Linked DNA regions of Homo sapiens: region 2 is linked to region 1. Evidence: promoter capture Hi-C in 16 types of primary human blood cells and fetal thymus (Javierre and others, 2016). All regions are on one chromosome and are shown on one strand. The core of a region is centred on a gene start or on the middle of the fragment in contact, and the rest is flanking DNA. Distances in the headings are between cores, read along the strand shown. Region 1 holds the start of ZKSCAN2 (zinc finger with KRAB and SCAN domains 2). Region 2 has its middle 51 kb from the start of C16orf82.

What was found. Contacts are between HindIII fragments. The CHiCAGO score rates a contact against its expected background, and 5 or more counts as called.
Region 2: a fragment that was not itself captured here is called in contact with the fragment with the promoter of ZKSCAN2 in region 1 in 1 of 17 cell types (endothelial precursors); the score reaches 6.4 in endothelial precursors.

Annotation. Positions count from the first base shown.
Region 1 is chr16:25,255,600-25,262,040 of GRCh38, forward strand. ZKSCAN2 (zinc finger with KRAB and SCAN domains 2) reads right to left here and starts at 2,246. Exons shown (of 7, transcript NM_001012981.5): 1 at 1,130-2,246. The coding sequence starts at 1,528. ZKSCAN2-DT (ZKSCAN2 divergent transcript) reads left to right here and starts at 1,978. Exons shown (of 1, transcript NR_170220.1): 1 at 1,978-5,467. RefSeq lists enhancers at 1,612-2,172, 2,588-2,907, 3,028-3,107 and silencers at 1,858-2,097, 2,178-2,377. The HindIII fragment of the contact is 3,031 bases long and covers 1,343-4,373 here.
Region 2 is chr16:27,114,810-27,121,250 of GRCh38, forward strand. No RefSeq gene overlaps it. Among named protein-coding and RNA genes, the nearest start is that of C16orf82, 51 kb to the left of the region's middle. The HindIII fragment of the contact is 827 bases long and covers 3,457-4,283 here.

The DNA of each region.
Region 1 (6,441 bases), core at 996-3,495:
AGACAGAGTTTCACTTTTGTTGCCCAGGCTGGAGTGCAATGGCACGATCTTGGCTCACTGCAACCTCCACCTCCCAGGTTCAAGCGATTCTCCTCTCTCAGCCTCCCAAGTAGCTGGGATTACAGGCATGCACCAACACAACCGGCTAATTTTATATTTTTTTAGTAGAGATGGGGTTTCATTATGTTGGTCAGGCTGGTCTCGAATTCCTGACCTCAGGTGATCAACATGCCTCGGCCTCCCAAAGTGCTGGGATTACAGATGTGAGCCACCGCGCCTGGCCAGAATAATATTTAATACTAAACAGAGAAGGAAATCTGTCAGGAGTGAAAGAGCCTCCTTGTTGCTAGAATAGATATTATTTGACTCTATATCTGTTACGTTCGCAAAGAAGTTACCAGGACATGAATATATACAGTAGTGAAATGAAAACTTACAAAATTAATATCCACATCTATCTGTCTATCCCTGACCAATACAGCAACCTGCTGATAGATCTCTACACAATGCAAGTCTGATGCAAGGTGAAACCGCAAATCTTGCAAATGCTGCAGGATTTCACGAGGTTCATGAAAGTGAGGTTGAAGAACAACTAGAAGAGCATGCAAGCCACTGAGAAATGAAGATGTGGCAGTTAGACTGGAGGAGAGTGACAGAAATGAAGGCATGAGAGCACTTCAGAAGACACTGAGTGCAACAGTAAAACGCTTGGAGACGGCTCTGGGATAACGGATGAAGTCTTTTTTTTTTTTTTTTAAAGGGGGAACAGAATAGCCTTTTTTGATCAAAATGCGTAAGTGAACCTCTGTGACGCAAAACCATATTGTTCTCTTATATTGTTTTGTTGCAAACATTATGCCAAAGATGACGATAAATGCTTAGGTGAATAATGTCTGGTTTCCATTGTAAGATAATATTTCAATCAAAGCTTTTATTTTTCTATTTCATGTGAAATTCTGATCCCCTTTTAAGTGGATTCACTTAAAGTGAAAAGACCCCCTTATAGGGTCTTTTATTAGTACCATTTATCTTTCTCTGAAGAGCACGTCTTTCTGCAATACATCCCTGCCCACATGCCTTTCCCATTCCCTTTTTTCTAAGTACAAAAATTTGGAAAATCCTCTCTCACCTGCTGTCTTAGTCTTCCAGTCTCTTTCTCCAAATGCACTACCAGGGCCACCGCTTCCTCTCCACTTTGCGGACACTGCTTCTGTGCCCAAGCCTGAATCTTCTCGGGTAAAATGGTGAGAAACTGCTCAATCACCAGCAGCTCAAGTATTTGCTCCTTGGAACGCATTTCTGGCTTCAGCCACCGGCAGCAAAGTTCCCAGAGTTTACTGAAAGCTTCATGGGGTCCAGTCACATCCTCATAACAGAATTGCCTGAAGCATTTGCGGAAGGTCTCAGAGCTATCCGATCCTTCCAGAATGGGCTCTGATGCCCACTCAGGGTCCTTTTCCACCTTCATTATTAGGCATCCCTCAACCTCCAGGGGCGCGTCGATCTGAGAGTCGAGGGCGACAGCCATGCTGCAGCCCAGGGGTCAACTTCACGTCTAGCTCAAGGTGGGGACCCAAAGAAGACTCCAAGCGCTCCCTGCTTAATGTTCCTGGGAGTGTGATAAGGTACGGAGGTAAAAACGGCCAGGTCGGCAGGAACAGGGTATTCCAGGCTGATTAATCAAATCTATGCCAGGCCCTTGAAAAGGTGAACGTATACTCTAAGATGCAAAAGCCTGGCCTCTTCTCCAAACAAGATGTGACCGCGCAATGTGGTTTTCCAGAGTGCATCCCTCTTAGTGCAAAGTCGGAAACCGGGAGGCTGGACGACTGGGAGAAAAATGAAGCAGGCTGAGGAAAGGCTGGGCGGAGGCGGACAGCCGGGCCGGGAGGGGGTGTGTCCGCTACTCCCGGGTCGGGCGCGGAGAGGCGAGTCCCCGAGTGGGTGGGGCCGGATGTGCAGGCCCCGCCCGGCGCCAGGTTCCGGGCTCGGGTCACCGCAGCACGTCCAGGCCGCCGCGGGTGCCGCTGGGGCCGCCGGATTCCGAGAGCGGCGCCGGGCTCTTTCGGGCCCACGACGGCCCCGACCGTCCTGAGGAAACCGCTGCCGCCGAGGAAAGGCCGCAAAAACTGTTCCGCCCGGAAGGGAGAAGAGCTGCGGGGCGAAGCCAGGGCTCGCAGGGGGCAGCGGCAGGCTGCTCGCGTTCGGCCTCGTCCACTCGGCCCGCGGAGAGCGCGGGGGGCGCTGGGAACCGCAGTCACGCATGCGCCGCCTGCCACCGAGCGCCGCGGGGCCCGCGCGAGGCGTCCTGGCGGGCGAGGGGCTGGGGGAGGGGGGGGGGGCCGTGCGGTGGACTCTCGCGAGAGCGCGCGGCGCGGTGACTCGTCGCTGAGGGACTTTAAGATTGTAGAGGGGCGCGGAGGGTCCTCCCCGGGGCGGAGGGACACAGAGGGATTCTAGGGAACCTGCCGTCGCGAGTCCCGCTTCAGGCGGAGAATCTAGGCGGCGGCGGGGCCTCCCTGAGGCGGAGGAGTCGGCACCGGGGCCTGGCTGCCGGGGAAGGAGAGCACGGGAGCGGGGACTCCTGTGTCTGGCGGAGGGACACGGCGTTCCGGTGGAGGGATCTGTTCCTTGTACCTGGTCCAGGGTTGCGGTCGGGGATGGAGCGGTTACCCCGACCCTGCGGGACCTTCTTCCTCTGGCGGAGGTGCACGGCGCGGCGTGGTGTTTTTCTGGCGGAAGTATCTGTGCGTGGCCCCAGGCCCTTCCCGGCGCGGTCTCATCTGGGGCCACTTGTTGGCCCTCGCGTTGGGGAGGTTCATGTGGTGCATCCTGATGAGAAGGGGGGTCACAGGGGTCTCGGGGCCAGGGTTCAGCCAGCCAGGCCCCAGCTTGCTCTCTTCTGGTGCTGCCCCTGTCCCTGAATTCATAGACCCGGCTTTCCCTCTCTTGAGCACCTACTATGTGCCAGGCTGCGCTTTGCGCATGTAGCAGAGGCAACAGTGTCACCTGGGAAGCTGGTTTCCCCCAAAGGAACTCTTGTCTGTCCGTTGTTGCAGAGCCAGCGCATGAGACCAAGTGTGAGTATCAGGCAGTGCAGCCTTCATTCAGTGGCCATGGAATTGGAGAAGTGGGAGGGTAGCTCGCAAATCAAGCTCTCAGCTCTTGGAAACTGAGAAGTTACAGGTAATAGGGAGTGTTGACGAAAAGTAAAACCGTGCAAAATATTTGAAGAGATTTATTGTGAGCCAAATACGAGTAACCACAGCCTGTGATACAGCCCTCTCGAGGCCCTGAGAACATGTGCCCAAGGTGGTCGGGGTGCAGCTTGGTTTTATGTTTTAGGTTGGCATGAGACATCAGTCAAATACATTAAATACATTGGTTTGGTCCAGGAAGGCGGGACAACGCAAAGGGGTGGGGGTGGGGGCTTCCAGGCTATAGGTAAATTTAAATATTTTCTAGTTGACAATTGGTTGAGTTTGTCTGAAGACCTGGGATTGATAGAAAGGAAGTGTTCAGGTTAAGATAAAAGATAGTGGAGACTAAGGTTCTTTTGAAGTCTTATGGTGGCTGCTCTTAGAGATAATAGATGACAAATGTTTCCTATTCAGATCTTCAAAAGGTGTTAGACTTTTAGTTAATCCGTTTAGGATTGGGAGGGCCTGGAAGAAAAACATCTAGCTATGTTAATAGATGTTCTTTACAGATGCACATTTTACCCCACAAAGGATAGCTTTTGGGGGAAAATGCTGTCCTTTATGGAAGAAATTGCAAAATAGGGCAAGGAAACATGTTTTGGGGTAAAATATTTTGACTTTCTTTTTGTCACGTAATGTTATGCCAGAGTCAGAATGGAAAGTAAGTCATCATATATAGGATTAAATAAAACCCATCTGATGAGAATTTATGGTTTGTAGGTCATGACTCCCCAGATCCCTTAGATAGGAATTTGGGCAGGATTAAAAAAATCAAGAGTTTAGGCTGGTCGTGGTGGCTCACGCCTATAATCCCAGCATTTTGGGAGGCCAAGGCAGGTGGATCGCTTGAGGTCAGAAGTTTAAGACCAGCCTGGCCAACATGGCGAAACCCCGTCTCTACTAAAAATACAAAAATTAGCTGGGCATGGTGGCACACGCCTGTGATTCTAGCTGATTGGGAGGCTGAGGCATGAGACTCAACTTGAACCCGGGAGGCGGAGGTTGCAATGAGCTGAGATTGTGCCACTGCACTCCAGCTTGGTTGACAAAGTGAGACTCTGTGTCAAAAACAAAACAAAACAGAAAAAAAAAACAAAAGAATCAGAGCTTAGTCGTCAGGTGTCCTTAATGAAGGGGCTGGGCATTAAGAGCAAGGCGAGGAGGCAGAAGGAAAGCTTGAGCCCAGGAATTGGAGACCAGCTTGGGCAACATGGTAAGACCCTGTCTCTAAAAAAAATAAAAATTAAGAACAAGAGGAGGAATATTCATGTTTTTTCTTGGGAAGGGAGGTAGATTTTCCTGGAATCAAGGAGCTGCCCCTTTTTTTGTCCTTTTTTTGGTCTCTTCGGGTCATCACGGTGATTGTCAACTGTCATGGCAACCAGTGGGAATGTCATTTAGTACTGAAGTTGGATTAGAATGAAGCTAGAGGTTCTTCAGAGGTCGAGTAAGCTAAGAAGGAACCTATGACCACAGACAACCTGTTTTCTAAAAATAAGCAGAGTTAAATCTGAGTAGGAATTTAGCTATGTCATGGAGGCATTGCATTGGGTAACAAAAGCCAGGTAGGCGTCCAGCTAAGTCCCCTAGGCCCTGCAACGGGTAACAGCAGTACTGACTCTATGTTAGAGAAAAGCTTGCTTGCTTGAGTATAATTATTGTTTTGCCTGAGTTTGTAAACTATTCACTAAAAACAGCCACAGAAAAAAACAGGACCTTCTTCAACAGATAAAACACACAGACCCGCAGCTTTGGGAACAGGCTGATGGCCCCTGCACAGTCTAGTCACAAGGCATTGACCAAGAAAGTAATGACTAACTGCCCATCTGAGACTGCGCATGATTCACAAGAATGTTTCTTTGTTTTGTTTTTTGAGACAGTCTTGGTCTGTCTCCCAGGCTGGAGTGCAGTGATGTTGGTTCGCTGTAGCCTCTGCCTCCTGAGTAGCTGGGACTACAGGCGTGTGCCACCGCACCTGGCTAATTTTTGTATTTTTAGTAGAGATGATGTTTGACTATGTTGGCCAGGATGGTCTCGAACTCCTGACCTCAAGTGATCCACCTGCCTCGGCCTCCCAAATTGCTGGGGTTACAAGTATGAGCCACCGCTCCTGGCCCACAAGAATGTTTTGATCATTATTTCTCCTAATTTTCCTTAAAATCCCTGGATCTAGAGGCACAACTGAGAAAGGTGGTCTTTGAATGCTAGTGCACTGCCTTTTGCAGGTTGCTGGTTTCTCGAATAAAGCTAACTTTGCTTTCACCAAAGCTTGTCTTTTGAGTTTTTGGCTTTCAGGCGACGAGTGGCCTGGACACCAGTTCGGCTACATGTATGTCAGTGGGCAAAACAAAAATCCTTATTCTGGGAGGTAGATAGCTTATTAGAAAACACAACCTAATCACTTGTTTCCCAAATGTTAAAAATTGAGCCAATTTTAGCCCCAGAAGCTTAGGGTACCATGTACATAACAGGCATTACCTGAGGGTGGGGCAGAGAGAATCAGTGGGGTACCTCGTATATGCCAGGGGTTGTATCAGCATCCTTACACAGCTCATTTTTCTTTTTAAATAATACTTATTGAGGACCTATTTAATGCCAGATATGGTGGTAGGTAGGGAGCAAAAGCAGGATTCCCCTCCCATTATTGAGTTTTCAGTCTGGTGGGAGAGGCAGGAATTAAATAAGTAATCCACAAACTCAAGTACAATTCTAAGGGAGATGGGTGCCACCAAGAAGAGACATGGTGCTGAGAACCTATGTCTGTCAGAGGGATTTGATCTATTTGGGAGGTCTGGAAAGGTTTTTTTGAAGAAGCAGTGCTAGGGGTGAGATCCAAAGGAGAAGAGCTAATTAGGCAAAGCCTAGTCCTCACAAAAATCCTATAAACCAGATATGATTACCTTCATTTTAGAGTTTAGGGCATTGAGACTTGAGCAAGGTGATGTCACTGCCCAAGGTTACATCAGATTAAATGGCAACCCAGGATTCAGATTCAAATAAGAGTAGGGTTCTTTATATTCTCCTTGGGCTATTTGGTGGTTTTAGGAGAGGCAAGTATCACAAACAGCTTGGGGACATGAGGGAGCAGGAATCACAAACTTGAAAGCCTGCAGAGCTCAGGCAGATAGCATAGAGTGAAGTAGGGCAGAGTGTAAGACAATAGGGGATGGTGGGGAGTGTGGTGAGCTGAAGGCCACATTTCCTGTCTAAAGGAAGCAGCCACTAGTTCCAGTCTCTTGTT
Region 2 (6,441 bases), core at 2,620-5,119, 1.9 Mb after region 1:
ACTGCTGTAGTCCTGGCAGTAGTGAACATAAGGGGTCTTGATAAATATTTGTGGAATTAAAAAAAGCTTTATGTTCACTCTGGAGAGAGTGAGGACACTCACTCTGGAACCCCTGAAGGCAGAGGGTGCCCTGGGGTCTCTTTTCCAGGTTATGATCAGGCCTTTCTTGCCTCAAATCTCTCCACATCACCTCTCAGGGTCCACAAATTCTCGCACTTCAGTAACATCCCCAGTTGTGCTTCCTGAGAAGTAGCTGGGTGCTGATGAAAGAGCTTTGGCACAGGGCTCAGACACACCTGGGTTTCACTCCTGGCTCTGCTATGCCCATTGCCTCTCTGGCCCTCAGTTCCGCCATCTATTAAAAAGGAAACCCAAATGGAACCCAACATACTGGGGTCGTGGAAAGGAGCAATGAGACCCAGGCACGTAAGGCAGCCAGCACTGCCCTGCCCCATGCCAGGGATTTGAAGAGCAGCAAAGAGAATGAGATGCTGAAGGGTCCCTGGGAAAGGGTCCCGGGTCTTCCCCACCCAGGCTGAAGCCCAATCAGGAGAGGAAGGTGGACCTGTGAAGGTAGGGGCGGTGCCTAGACTAATGTAGCTGGGAGAGGCTTCCAGAGCTCTCCATGCACAAGCTGGTGTGGAGCAGTGCAGGAGTCCCAGGCGTGTAAGAGCAATGTGGACGTGGTGAAGGACTCAGGAGGGTTCAGAAAAATTCAGTAATTGTCTGGGCGTGGTGGTTCATGCCTGTAATCCCAACATTTTGGGAGGCTGAGGCAGGTGGATCACCTGAGGTCAGGAGTTTGAGACCAGCCTGGCTAATGTGGTGAAACCCCCTCTCCACTAAAAAGACAAAAATTAGCTGGGCATGGTGGCGCATCCCTGTAATCCCGGCTATTCAGGAGGCTGCGGCAGGAGAATCACTTGAACCTGGGAGGTGGAGGTTGCAGTGAGCCGAGATGATGCCACTGCACTCCAGCCTAGGCGATAGAGTGAGACTCCGCCTCAAAAAAAACAAGAAAAAAAAAAAGGAAGAAAAGAAAAAGAAAAGGAAAGAAAAGCTCAGTAACTTCCCAGTGCATCTCATTGAACTTAGCATGGGCACCCACCTGATCTCAATGCACCCAGGAGTTGGCATTCGAGGGCAGCAAGGAGCATCCCTCAGACTTGGATGCAGTTATACACAGCGCCACAGCAGCACGCATGGCCTGACGTCAAAGACTGGCTGAGAATCTCAGAAAATCATGGATGTCCCCTCCCCAACACCCTGACCTCCGCCCCTGCCGAACTTAGGGGTAACCCCAAGGAATGTAAGGAAACCTAAATTGATTGGAAGAATGGACACAAATTAAACATGGTTATGAACTTTGTTAGTCCATTTTGCATTGCTGTAAAGGAATACCTGAGGCTGGGTAATTTATTAAAAGAAAGGAGGTTTATTTGGCTCAAGGTTCTGCAGGCTGTGCAAGCATGGTGCCAGCATCTGCTCAGTTTCTGGTGAGGCCTCAGGAAGCTTTTAATCATGGCAGAGAGGAAGAGGAGCCAACGTGTCACATGATGAGAGGGAGCAAGAGAGACATGGGAGGTCCTAGACTCTATTCTTCCTTTAATTTTTCAACTTTTGTGGGTACATAGTAGTGTATATATTTATGGGGTACATGAGAGATTTTGATACAGGCAGGCAATGCATAATAATCCTATCAAGGTAAACGGGGGATCCATCATTGGAAGCATTTATCCTTTGTGTTACAAACAAGCCAATTACACTCTTTTAGTTATTTATAAATGTGTAATTAAATTATTATTGACCATAGTCACACTGTTGTGCTATCAAATCTATCAAATACTAGGTCTAATTCTCCTTTTTTTTTTTTTTTTTTTTTTTTTTTGAGATGAAGTCTCGCTCTGTTGCCCAGGCTGGAATGCAGTGGCATGACCTCAGCTCACTACAACCTCCTCCTCCCAGGTTCAAGTGATTCTCCTGCATCAGCCTCCTGAGTAGCTGGAGCTACAGGCACCCACCACCACACCTGGCTAATTTTTGTATTTTTAGTGGAGATGGGGTTTCACTATGTTGGCAAGGCTGGTCTTGAATTCCTGACCTCAAGTGATCCACCCGCCTTGGCCTCCCAAAGTGCTGGGATTACAGCCATGAGCCACTGCACCTGGCCCTTATTCATTCTTTCTAACTATTTTTGTACTCATTAGCCTTCCCAACTCCTCCCCGCCACCAACCGGCACCCCCCACTACCCTTCGCAGCCTCTGGTCACCATCTTTCCCAGGCTCTAAATTTTTAACGGCCAGATCTCACATGAATAGAATGAGAACTCACTCATTACCACCAGGAGGGCACCAAGACATTCATGAGGGATCTGCCCCCATTTCCCACTAGGCACCACCTTTAACATTGGGAATCACATTTCAACATGAGATTTGGAGGAGACAAACATCCCAACCATAGTGTGAAGTGAATGAATAAAGAGAGTGATATTTCCCATGCACCTGAGATGTGGACTGACATTTCTACCACATGGTACGTTGCCAGAATCCTCCATTGGGTGTGTGTGTGTCTTGCGACTTGAATGAGCCTGAGAAGCCTTGAGACTTCTTCCTGGGCCTCGGAAGGGCTGTCCTTATCAGGGACAGCTATTCTGCAAGAACTCTGCATGGGGAAGAGTAGAAATGACTGGGGGTGTAAATGTTGTCTGATTAATCACAAGAGAAAGTGCCTCTTAGATGGAGCTGCCCAGTGATGGAAAGGACTACCATGAAAGGAAGCGAGTTTCCTATTCCTGCAGGTATGCAAGTGACACTGTCAGAGGTGTGGAGAAGTAACTCCTACCTGTGGAGTTTGCCTGACTAAAATAACACTGAGGCCCCTCTGAAGCTTTATAGGCTCTGAGTCTTCCAGCAGAGCCCAGAGTGATGTTGGGTAATCAGAGACGGAATTAGCTGAATGCATGGGGAGGGGAGGAGGAAGAGAGAAGGAAGAAGAATAGGAAACAGTAAGGGAGGAGAGTAGGAGAAAGGAAATAAGGGTCCCAACTGAGAAGGCCCAACATTAGTCAAAAGTTTTTCAAAGAAAGGCCGGGCGTGGTGGTTCACGCCTGTAATCTCAGCACTTTGGGAAGCTGAGGCGGGCAAATCACTTGAGGTCAGGAGTTCGAGACCAGCATGGTCAACATGGCAAAACTCCATTTCTACCAAAAATACAAAAGTTAGGCGGGCATGGTGGCGTGCACCTGTAATCCCAGCTACTTGAGAGGCTGAGGCAGGAGAATTGCTTGAACCCAGAGGGCAGAGGTTGCAGTGAGCTGAGATAGCACCACTGCACTCCAGCCTGGGCAAGAGAATGAGACTCCATTTCAAAAAAAAAAAAAAAAAAAAAAGTTTTTCAAAGATAATATTTCCCAAGTGGGGGCCACATGTTCACAACAGTCAGAATAGCTTAAACCAAGCTTGTCCAGCCTGCAGCCTGCAGGCCACATGCAGCCCAGAATGGCTTTGAATGTGGCCCAACACAAATTCAAAAACTTTCATAAAACATTATGAGATTTATGCATGGCGCTTTTTTTTTTTTTTTAGCTTATCAGCCATCATTAGTGTTAGTGTATTTTATGTGTGGCCCAAGACAGTTCTTCCAATGTGGCCCAGGGAAGCCAAAAGATTGGGTGCCCCTGGACTATGCTGCAGTAACAAATTAACCTGAAATCTCAGTGCTTTGGCACAGTAAATGTATTTCTCACTCATGTAGAGTCCAGGTGTCCCTATGGCTGTGATATCTGGAATGCAAGGAGGAGGATGGAATGCAAAAGGGAGCTGGAAAAAGCCCACTAGCATTACACTGCCACAGCCCAGCAGTGAAACGGCACTTCACTGCCACAGCCCAATAGTAGCACTCACCAGCCAGTGCCCAGAAGAAGTCACATGATCCCAACCATCTGCAAAGGAAGTTGAGAAACTTAGAGAAGACGGTGGATATTTTGAGAGCAATAATTTTCTCTACCACAGACACAGACCCATAATGGAACACAATTTTAGATGGTAAATACGATAATTTTTGGTGAAAATAAATAAAGCGTTAAAAAACATTGAGCTGCGTAATGAGAAAATTCTTCCCAGATCAATTATCTCAAAAGCCTCATAATTATGAGAAAGTCTCAGCTTGGTGATAATATGTCTTTAACACCTCCCTAAAAGTCTAACACTGCTAGTCTTTATCAATATATAAAGCACTGACCTCAGATTTAGAGCCTTCAAGAGAAAAGAGAATATTCTACTTAAGCTTACAAAACACTGGTGTGTTCCCATCATATTCATTTTCATGATTACCTCCTATTTACGGAAAATGATGCCAATTTTCCATGTAGGGTGACAAAGTAAAGTTTCCTTTTAAATAAATTTATTTTTTAAAATTGACTCTCTTTAAAGAAGACTATTAAGTTAGTAGTAGTATAGGTGGTACCCGAATATGGCAAAAAAGCATTAATGATGCAGTGTGAGTTATTGAAGTTTGTAAAATTCTGTTCCACCTCCAATTCAGCAGTGCATATATTGGATTTTTTATGTGTTTGTTTAGTATTTAATTGACAAAAAGATTTTATATTTTAAGGTGTATGACTGATGATTTGATATACATTGTTTAATGATGACCACAATCAAATTCATTAACATATCCATCATCACCCATGTCATACACCAGATCCCCAGAATTTGTTCATGTTATAACTGAATGTTTGTGCCCTGTGACCACCATTTCCCCATGTACCCAGTAACTACTGTTCTACTCTCTACTTCTATGAATTCAACTTTTTAATATTCTACATATAAATAAGACCATACATTATTTGTCTTTCTGGGTCTAGATTATTTCACTTCCCATAATTTCCTCTAAGTTCATCCATGTTGTTGCAAAAGACAGGATTTCATTCCTTTTTATGGCTGAATAATATTCTCCATTCATCCATCCATGGATATTTAGGTTGTTTCCATATCTTGGCTACCGTGAATACAGCTGCAATGAACATGAGGTGCAGATACCTCTTCGACATAGCAATTTCACAGCCTTTAGCTATATACCCAGAAGTTAGATGGCTGGATCATGTGGTACTTGTATTTGTGGCTTTTTGAGGAACCCCCATACTGTTTGCCCTAATGGCTATACTAATTTCCATTTCCACCAACAGTGTATAAGCATTTCTTTTTCTCTACACCCTCACCAGCACTTGCCAACTCTTATCTTTTTGATAATAGTCATCCTAACAGGTGCGAGATATCTCACTGTAGTTTTGTTTGCATTTATCTGATGATTAGTGATATTGAGCACTTTTTCATATACCTGTTGGCCATTTGTATGTCTTCCTTAGAAAAATGTTTATTCAGATCCTTTGCCAATTTTTTTTTTCCAATCTATACTCTTACTTTACTTTTTTTCCTTTTACTTTTATTTTGAGTTCTGGGGTACATGTGCAGAATGTGCAGGTTTGTTACATAGGTGTACCATGGTGGTTTGCTGCACAGATCAACCCATCACTTTGGTATTAAGCCCAGCATCCATTAGCTATTCTTCCTGATGCTCTGCCAATTTTTAAATAGCATTATTTGGGTTTGGGAGTTTTTTGTGTTGTTTTGTTTTGGGGGGTTATTTGGTTGATTGGTTTTGCTATTAAGTTATGTGAGTTCTTTCTATATTTTTGTTATTAGCCCCTTATGAGATGTACAGTTCACAAATATTTTATCCCATTCCATAGTTTGCCTTTGCATTTCACTTATTGTTTTCTTTGGTGTGCAGAAGCTTTTTAGCTTGATGTAGTCCCACTTGTTTGTTTTTCCTTTTGTTGTCTGTGCTTTTGATGTTATATCAAAAAATTCATTGCCAAGATCAATGACAAGGAGCTTTTCCCCTATGTTTTCTTCCATGAGTTTTATGGTTTCAGATCTTACATTTAAGATTTAAATACATTTTGAATTAACTTTTGTATATGGTGTAAACCAAGTGTCCAATTTTATTCTTTTGCATGTGCCTATCCAGTTTTCTTACCTTTACTCATCAGGGATATTGACCTGTGATTTTCTTTTCTTGTAGCATTCTTATCCTAGCTTGTCTCCTTTCAGGAATTGACAAGCTTATCCCAAAATTCTTATAGAAATCCAAGAATTCCATCTTGAATCTTAAAAAAAGTAAAAGTTCAAGAATTCACACTTCTCAGTTTCAAAACTTACTACAAAACTACAGTAATCAAGACAGTGCAGTATTGGCATATGTATCAGTGGAAAAAATTAGATTCCAGAAATAAATCCGTATAACTATGGTTGATTAATTTGGGGCAAGGGCCTATTCAATGGGAAAGGGATAGTTTTTTCAATAAAAGGTGCTGGGACAACTGGATATCTACATGTAAAAGAATGAATAATGTTGAATCCCTACCTCACACCATATAC